Regions from separate parts of the Homo sapiens genome. Here region 1 is linked to region 2. The links are contacts of gene promoters, found by promoter capture Hi-C in human tissues and cell types (Jung and others, 2019). All regions are on one chromosome and are shown on one strand. The core of a region is centred on a gene start or on the middle of the fragment in contact, and the rest is flanking DNA. Distances in the headings are between cores, read along the strand shown.

The links. The method cuts DNA at HindIII sites, captures the fragments that hold promoters and counts their contacts. A contact is called where the count stands out against the background at its distance.
Region 1: a contact is called between a fragment that was not itself captured here and the fragment with the promoter of EVA1C in region 2, in 1 of the 25 tissues and cell types used here (lymphoblastoid cells).

What each region holds. Positions count from the first base shown.
Region 1 is chr21:33,110,854-33,115,125 of GRCh38, forward strand. LOC101928107 (a long non-coding RNA gene) reads right to left here. Exons shown (of 3, transcript NR_109961.1): 2 at 3,533-3,770; 3 at 851-1,876. Among named protein-coding and RNA genes, the nearest start is that of OLIG1, 43 kb to the left of the region's middle. The HindIII fragment of the contact is 4,232 bases long and covers 1-4,087 here.
Region 2 is chr21:32,411,247-32,415,579 of GRCh38, forward strand. EVA1C (eva-1 homolog C) reads left to right here and starts at 1,460. Exons shown (of 8, transcript NM_058187.5): 1 at 1,460-1,767. The coding sequence starts at 1,608. The HindIII fragment of the contact is 9,144 bases long and covers 1-4,169 here.

The DNA.
Region 1 (4,272 bases), core at 722-3,221, 700 kb after region 2:
AATAAAGCAATGCTGGAGGCTTGAAGGAGTTTAAAGACTAACAGGGGAGATAATAATTGTTACTATGCACCAGGCAGGGTTCTAAGTCCTTTGCATAAATTAACCCACTTAAGCCTCCCAACAGCTCCCTGAGGTTGGATACTATTAGCCCATTTTTACAGGTGGGTAAACTGAGGTACGGGGGGTTAAATAATTTGCCTAAGATCATACTACAGGGAAGCAGTAGAGAGGAGACTCGAACCCCTGAAAACACAAAGAGCAGCCCTGGGCCCTCGGCAAAGACGACGCTTCCTATCCCGGGGACAGAGGGAGACAAGTCCAGGCATCCCAGAGAGCAGGAATCCCAGAGCAAAGGCCAGGAGTGGGACCACAGGCAGAGTAAGGGGCCCAGGTGGCTGGTGCACCCGCCTGAGGATCGGATGTCTCTCTGGGGCATTGTGTCTACTTAAAGCGCTTGGCTCAGGTTTTCCATCAGGCCCAGAAGAGCCATTTTGGGGCAGCACAGAGACCTCAGAGGAATGAGCTCAACTGAGCGGCTGTAGTTTGCAAAAGCTGCCGACCAGACAAGCTTCACCCTTCAGACCAAAAAGAAAAATCCCCTCTGGAGCCTGAATTGTTCGGCAAAAAAGATAAACGTAGAAGCCAGTCCCAGATCTTAGAGCACCTCAATGGGACATGTGGATCATTTTCTGTAGTTAACAAGGAACCCTTAAAAGAATAAGCCATTCTTGTTACGGCTTTTGAATTGTGATGGCTTTTGCCTGCAATATCTGTATGTTTATGGCAAAATCATTATTTTGAGATGAACTATCTGGATAACTGTCGGAGAGAAACTGCAGGCTGCATTTCACCACTGATGCTCTGTTTTATGCATGTGTTGCATGTATTCCCACCAGTTGGTGGTAAACTTTTGCATTTTTCAAGCCTGTCAGAGGACCGACCCACTTTCTGTGCAGTGTCAGAAGCTCAAGAGAGAAGCCAGAAGAAAAAGACACAGTAGCCTGTAGCCTTCGGTGCACATCTGCAAAGAATGCATGCCTATTGCCACTATTGCATTCTGTCCGGGGCTCTATCATTCATCTTCTAAGCCAAACTTCTGCCAAGTCCTCTCATTTGTCCATCGAACATTTCCGTACCGGCTGTTTTTCCATCTTACCTCGCCAAAGTTGTTTATATTCTCCCTGAGTGACAGAGCAAACAAAAGCTGGGCAAAAGCAAACAAATAGGGTCTTCTGATAATTGAACCACTTTTGAATCTTTCATTGACAACATCTCCACACCGAAGAACACCTGCCATAGGTATCAAGCATAAATGCTTCTTCATCAATGGTTGCTTGCATCGAAAAGGGCTCAGAAAGATAGGACTCCTGACTGTTCCCTCAGAAAACGTTTGTGTTTCAGCTCATCTGGGATTGGAGAGCCCATTTCTTCCTGATGTGTGTCACTTGGAGGCCTCCAACCTGCAAACATCAGGATGGCTGCTTCCCTGCAAAATTAGGCAGCTGCAGGTTGACTTGAGTCTGTGTCTCCCGATCCAGAATGTGGGACGATGCAATTGAATAAGTGTGGGATGCTTTCTTCATAGCATAATGCTACACGATGACTTCCTACAGACACACACACTGAGAGAGACCAAGGGAGGATAAATTTGGGATAAAAATGCCACAATCTCATGGCCTCAACACCAAACTGGTGCTGATCCAATTCTTCCCGAAATGAAATGTGATGTTTCTGAATTCCTTCTGGCTGCCGCTGAAAGCCCCCACTTTTCCTGGTGACTGTGGGAGGCTGCGATGTGGTGGGGGTGGGGCACGGAGTACTGGGCGCTAAGCTCTCTCCTGGCTTCACATAAAGGAAGCAAAATCAAAATCCAAGCCTGAAAAAAAAGAAAAAAAGAAAACTAAATTTAATTGGCTAGGAAACAGGATTCCTGGGGCCTCTGCTTTCCCAGCTTCCAGAGAAGGATTTAGGCTGGGACACTTCCCCGCCCTCAGGACAAAAAGAAAAAAAAAAAGGATTAAATTCGGGTTGGGTCTGGCTAGTACAAATTGCATGCAGAGTATACAGTTGCTTTGCATATTGCATGTGCTTTCATGGAGAGGGAAAACGGGGGAAGAGGGAGGGCAGGGACACTAAAGAGGGGAAAAAACTAAAAACAACTTGCTGTTTTCATATGGTCGGATAGAACTGTTTTGTCTTTGTAACTGTGCAGAATGTCAATGGTAGGCACCGTGTCGTGACAAGATTTTTTTTTTTTAAGTTAAGCTAAGCTCACACCCGAGCTGTAGCCCCCCGAGGTACTGCAGCTTTAATTGTGTTCAGTATGATCTACAGAACAATATGTCTTGATAAATCTGAATGGCAACCCAGCGCACGGTTCCCCTTGGCATTGCTGCAAAGCCAGGCCTCGCTTTAGTGAACCCGTTCAGGAATGTGGGTTAATTCGCCGACCCTTTTTACCCCCACAGCTCTGTTTTTGTGAGGTTGGCAGAAACTGACACGTTTTCTTTTGCTTAATTAAGTTGTTCAGTAGAAGGCTGGTCAAACAGTTGCATCTACGTGGGGAGTCTGGAGATGCACAGAAAGCCGTGGGCGTTTCCAACATAAAAAGGGGGATTCTGTTATTGTTTGGGTGTAGACGGGTCATTTTTTCAAAGTTACTGCTGCCTGAGTGACCACAACCCTGTGCGCAGCCCTGAAAGGACATTAAAGCTGCTTAAATACAACTACCTTCGGTTTACTTTTTAAAAGAGAGAGAGAGAGAAAGAGGGAAAGAACAAGCAGGAGAGAAACGAAGCGGTCCCATTTATGTAGCATTTTATTTCTTTCCGGACTTTTTTTTTTTTTTTAAGGCAAAGAGTGGGCTCATTTGCATAAGAGATGCCCATACATTATGAATTACTGCTAGTATGATCAAACTCTCTTTCCAATCAGTAAAACAAAACTGGTACCATACCCATAGAAATTGCACTGGCCTTCTGAACAGAGGAGTGGGATCTAATCACCCTTATGCCAGACATTGGGGTTAGGAAAATGTCTAAAATCTCCATTGATGAAATTCCCGCTTTCGTTCCTTGGTGATATTATGACAACCACACACAGTATCAGTCTCATGGATTCTCAAAGGAACTGAGGGCCTGATTGGAGGCCTCCTCCATCACGTCTCTGTCCCTTTTTGAAGCCTCCTATATTTCTAATTCAAATCACCTTTATCATTGATATGCAGATCCCCCCGATTTTCTGTGGATATTTGGTCCCAGCAAGAGTTTTTCTCATTGCACGTACTGTGTGATATATTTAACCGGAGGCAGGTGGAGGCACTGGCACCTGGGCTTTGGGATCCTAGTGCTAACAATGAATGGCCTTGGTCTACTGTATGCCCTGAGTTGTTTCTATTGATGCCACTGTGCCTCAGTTTATCCATAACAGCAGATGCTCATTGTGGGTACTTAACAGGCACCTAATACATACATTTCTGAGTTTAAGCTGCCCCTTTCTCCCTTGGCAATAAAGCAATAATTAGAAAACTCACTGATTCCGCAGCACCTGGCACCGTCACTGTGCTGATAATCAACACCATGATTTTCAGCAGTTATGAAGCCCGGGTGCCCATTGGTGAAGCATCAGGCTTGCAGGGCTGCTCAAGGGATGTTTGTACATACTTGGTCTTGCAGAGAGCCATTATGCCTGTTTGGAAGCCAGGCACTCCAATTTTCCCCCAGGTCCCAGAACTGCAGCTTTTGGAAAGCCCAAAGATCAGCCTCTTCCTTCTAGAGAGAGAAAAGACTGCAGGGTCAAACATTTCAAGAGACTTCACCATGATTTTTCACTTCTCTTAATATACAAGAAACAGTAGGCAATTATTTGACTGATGTTAGTTGCATGAATGGCAAAATGATTCTCAGGCCAAAGAACAATCCATTTTGGAGTATAAATGACTTGGATCAGCAGTCTACACTGATATCAGCTGTTTGTTTGTTTTTTAAAGTCTCACTATGTCACCCAGGCTGGAGTGCAACGGCATGATCATGGCTCACTGCAGCCTCGATCTCCTGGACTCAAGCCATCCTCCCACCTCAGCCTCCTTAGTAGCTGGGACTACTACAGGCATTCACCACCACACCTGGCTAAAGTTTTTTACTTTTTATAGAGATGTGGTCTTGCTAAATGGTTGCCCAGGTTGGTCTTGACTCCTAGGCTCAATCGATCCTCCCACCTCGGCCTTCCAAAGTGCTGGGATTACAGGCCACCATGCCCAGCCCGGTTTTTCAT
Region 2 (4,333 bases), core at 210-2,709:
CTTACCCACACTCCCAGCTTCAGTTTCCCTAACCTAGAGAGCGCACACTAATATTTATGTTCAAATGTTATTGGGGAGGTTGAGTTTTTATTTAATATTTGAATGTAGATTTTAAAAATCATTATGCCAGACAGGCTGGGCCTCACTCGATAAACACTGATGTTTAGCATTTAACACACTTTTCCCCAGACTGGAAGAAGAGGCCGAGATCCCAATTCGGTGACCCAGCCCTTGCTGGAGTACTAGGTGGTATCTAATGCCATCCACCCTTCCGGGATCTTTACGGCCCACCTCTGAGTGGGTCCCACGGGGACCCTCAGCCGCATTTTCTTTCTGCAGGCCTCCCTGCACACTCTGGGGCGTTCGCAGCTCTGGAGCCCGCGGGGCAGTGCGTCCGGCCCCGCCCTGGGCCTCATTATCTACGTTTCCGCGTCACGCCCGCCGCGAACTTGGCAGGCCCTCCCGCCGGGTTCGGGAACACTGTGTGCCTAGCGCCCGCCCTCCTCCCTTCCGCCGGCCCCGCGCGATCCATAGGGTTTGGGTCGCTGGGCGCCAGGTACCCGCACCCGGCAAGCAGCCACGGAGCCCCTCGCGCACTTGTCCTCGATACCCTTGAGTTGGGGCTACGCAGGCCACTCCTAGGCCACTGGCTGGGCGTCCGAACGTGGGTCACCCCGCGCACAGTCTAGAGGTTCAGAAAGATGCTGTGGCCCACTTTAAAACAAAGCCCAATTATTAGCGCTCGGCGGCTGTTTGCGCCGGTGCAGTGTCAGATCCCCCAGCGCTGCGGACAACCAGCACCCAAAGGAAGCCGAGCTGGAGCTAAAGATCCCGGCTCCGGAGCCATCTGACCGGTTTTGAGACCTCCAGCTCGTCGCCGTCCTGGCTGCGAGAGCTTGGGCACGGCGCCGGGGCTCAGTCTCCTCTTCTGTGGAATGGCGATAACTGTATGTGCCGGGTGACTGCACGTGGCGCGCGGCGGGTGGCGGGGATGGCAGCGGTGCGATCCCACGCCTCCAGGACCCCACCTTCCTGCGGCCCCCGATCGGCCCCGCCCCGGGGGCGCCCCAGCTGCACGCGCGGCGCTGGCTCCAAAGTGCGTCACGGGCACCGGCCGCGCTCCTTCTGCCGCCAGGGCGAGGCTGGCACCCGGCCAGCGCGGGCAGGGCCACGGGTGCCCGGCTGTTTCCCGGGTGTGGAAGGCGCTCAAGGTGCGCGGCCCGGGGCGCGCTACTGGGGGCGCCCTCCGCGGTGGGCAGCGCGCCAGGGATCGGCCTGGGCAGCCGCGGGGCGCGCGAAGGCTGCGCTTTCCCTACGGCCCCCCTCGCTTCCTCCGGCACGGCGGCAACGGAGATTTCCTCTCGGGGAAACTACGCGGATCCTTTTCGGGGATCCTCGCCCCGCCCCAGTTCTCCGCCCCCTCCCCTTTGCTGGGGCGCCTGGGCTGGCCCGCGCAGGGGAGGAGGCTCTGGCAGCCTGGGCAGGGAGGCGGCGGGGGGCCGCGGAGCCGCTGGCCATCGATTCTCCCCGCCATGTGACGCCGTCCTTAGCCCTGCGACCCCCAGCGCGTCCCGGGCCTGCGCCTCCGCCCCGCCGCGCAGCGCACGATGCTTCTGCCGGGACGCGCACGCCAACCGCCGACGCCCCAGCCCGTGCAGCATCCCGGCCTCCGCCGGCAGGTAGAGCCGCCGGGGCAGCTCCTGCGCCTCTTCTACTGCACTGTCCTGGTCTGCTCCAAAGAGATCTCAGCGCTCACCGACTTCTCTGGTAAGAGCGCCCTCCCTGGCTGTGTGCCCCCGGCACCGCGGAGCGCCCAGGTGAACCCTCGACTGGGGGCAGCCGCACCAGTGGACACGGCGGGGTAGGATTAAAGTTGAGGCGTGCTCACAGACACTTGTCTGGTGTGAGCCCTTGGCATATAGATGGCTGCGAGTGAAGTGGCGACGGGGGACTGCCACTCCCAAGAAGGAAGGGTGTGTAATGTATTCAGAGTTTCTCGCCCTGCTGTTGACCTCGTCAATTTCCTAGCATTAGGGACCTGGTCCTGAGCCACGCTCGTTCTATGGAGGCTCCTTAAACTGAGCCCTGTGCCGCGCCCAGCGCTGTAAAATACACGTGTTGTGGTCGGAGGCGTTGCGCCGCGTTTGTCACCCGCGTAGCCCGTTTGCCCATGTAAGGAGACTAGCCCAGGGGACACTTGACCTCGAGTCCACATTGGCAGGTAGAAAGGGAAGCCCGCGGGGACTGGAGGTCTGGTGGAAAGGCAGTGAGGGATGAGGAGATACTTAGATAAGAGAGAGGAGCCTCTCTGCCAAAGTGTACCAGGGTCCTCCCTCTCCAATTCCAGTTTCCTTCACAGAAAATAATGACTTCCTACTCTCGAATAAACTAGGAGGCTTTTCTTTTTGGGAATCGTGATCCAGGCTCTCGCAGCGGATCTCAGATAGTTCTGAGCTTACAGGTGTGACGCCCCAAAGTGAAAGGGATTTCTAGGTTGACGATAGCCATAGGAGCACATGCTTAAGTTAGCGCTGCAGTTGCTTAAGGTAACACATGTCCTTGCCGCTGAAGCACACCTGGATCTCCCTCTGGCAAGGCTGGAGGCCTTCAGCCTTCCCCAGCCCAGCTTAGGGAGCAGCTCTGAGCCCCATACTCCTCCTTCTCCAGGGATCTTCTGCCAAGTTCAGGCTTTGCACAGTCGGTCCCTATCGGGTCCTCAGTGCAGAGTCTTTTGCAACATAATGGTGGTAAAGGGAGTCCTCCTCAGTCCTGTTTGTGCAGTAGGCTAGTACATAGCAAAGAACAAGGGCAAACCAGAAGTTGAGATGGGGTTCTAGTTTACTTACAGAGAATGTCATTGTTAGTGGAGAGCCCTTAGGTCAGAGGTTCTTTGCTTTGAATATGTAATATCAAGGCAGTATTCCTACCTAGCAAAGGAAGCCAAGATAAGGCCTATTTGGCAAGCCACCCACGGCCCTTAAAATCAAGCATCCCAGGATCAGAACTCTGTGGTAAGAGTTGTGGGGAAATGCATCAGACTTTTCAAGGGCTATTAACTTTTTTTTTTGTACTACTAGAACTTTCTTGGCTGCTAGAAAAGCTCTGTATTAGCTGATTTGAGCTATGGAAAGCAGTTCTGAGTTCAGCCACCATCTAGCTCTGAATTCTAAGGAAATAATTGAAAACTGACAAGCCTTTTTGTGTTTGTGACATCATTGCAACTGAACAAATATTGCTTTAGGCAAATTGCAGTGTAACCATTAGATTGTTTTCACAGATTATAGACACTTAGAGTTCTGTTGCTTTAGGGAAGCAGTTGCAATACTTGTAACAGTCTATAGATTACCACCCAAGTTTGGAATTGTCTGTATCTAGCAACTGTTACATACAGTGGAGTTGAGCTATCAACTCCTTAGTAAAATGAATGATTTGATACATGTTATTCTAAATAGTATAAATGATAAAAGGCATTTTCTTCTGCTTTCCATACGAACCTAAATTCCAGGGTTTCAAACTCCCTGAGCCAGCAGTAGGTGGTGATATTGCCACCCACAACGAGCCCCCATTTTTCCTCTCATCAGTGATGCTCTCCAGAGATCTGAAGATTAGGCAGAACATGTCAGAAGCCTTTTGGGGAGAAGAAAGGAAATATAATGTCCTCCCAAACCACTGATGCACTTAAATTTAAACCTTAATTCTATATCATGTGAGGTCAGGGAAATATTAGAAAAATCTCAGGGAGAAAGAAAGATCATCTTCCAAAGTTGGCTCATTTGACTTGGATTTTAGCCGCCCTCCCTCTGCAAATTCCTAAGCTCCAAAGATGACCATCTTATTGTTCGGTTCAGTGTTTCAGCTGACGCGAACCCCATGTGGCCTCAAAGCTTGCCGCCTGTGTTCCTGGGACAGTCGGTCCTGTTCCTTTTTATGAACTTGAAGGAGTGCATAGAAACCAAAACTGAGGCCTGGAAGGAGACAGTGGATCCTCCCCTGCAGAGCCTGATCACAATAACCAGGGCTAGAGAGCAGTGTTTGACAATGCAGATACTTGCCTGTTTTTCTAAATAAAGGGAACATCAAAAACTAGCAGAGGATAGAGGAAACTTGGGATCCCTCTGCCCTGTGAAGGAGGAGGGAGGATGGTGTATCCATGTGAAAGAAAGTGCCAGAATGTCAGGGGTCCCAGCCATTGTCTGTACAATATAGGCCCCTTTCTCCCCCCAGGAGATTAGCAGTGCAGAGTTTTGGAAAGTTCCTTAAGCCTTTCTCTTCTTTGCGGCTCTTCCTTGAGCCTTTTCCTGGGGCTGTCAGCTGGTGTCGTTTTCCTGGGTCA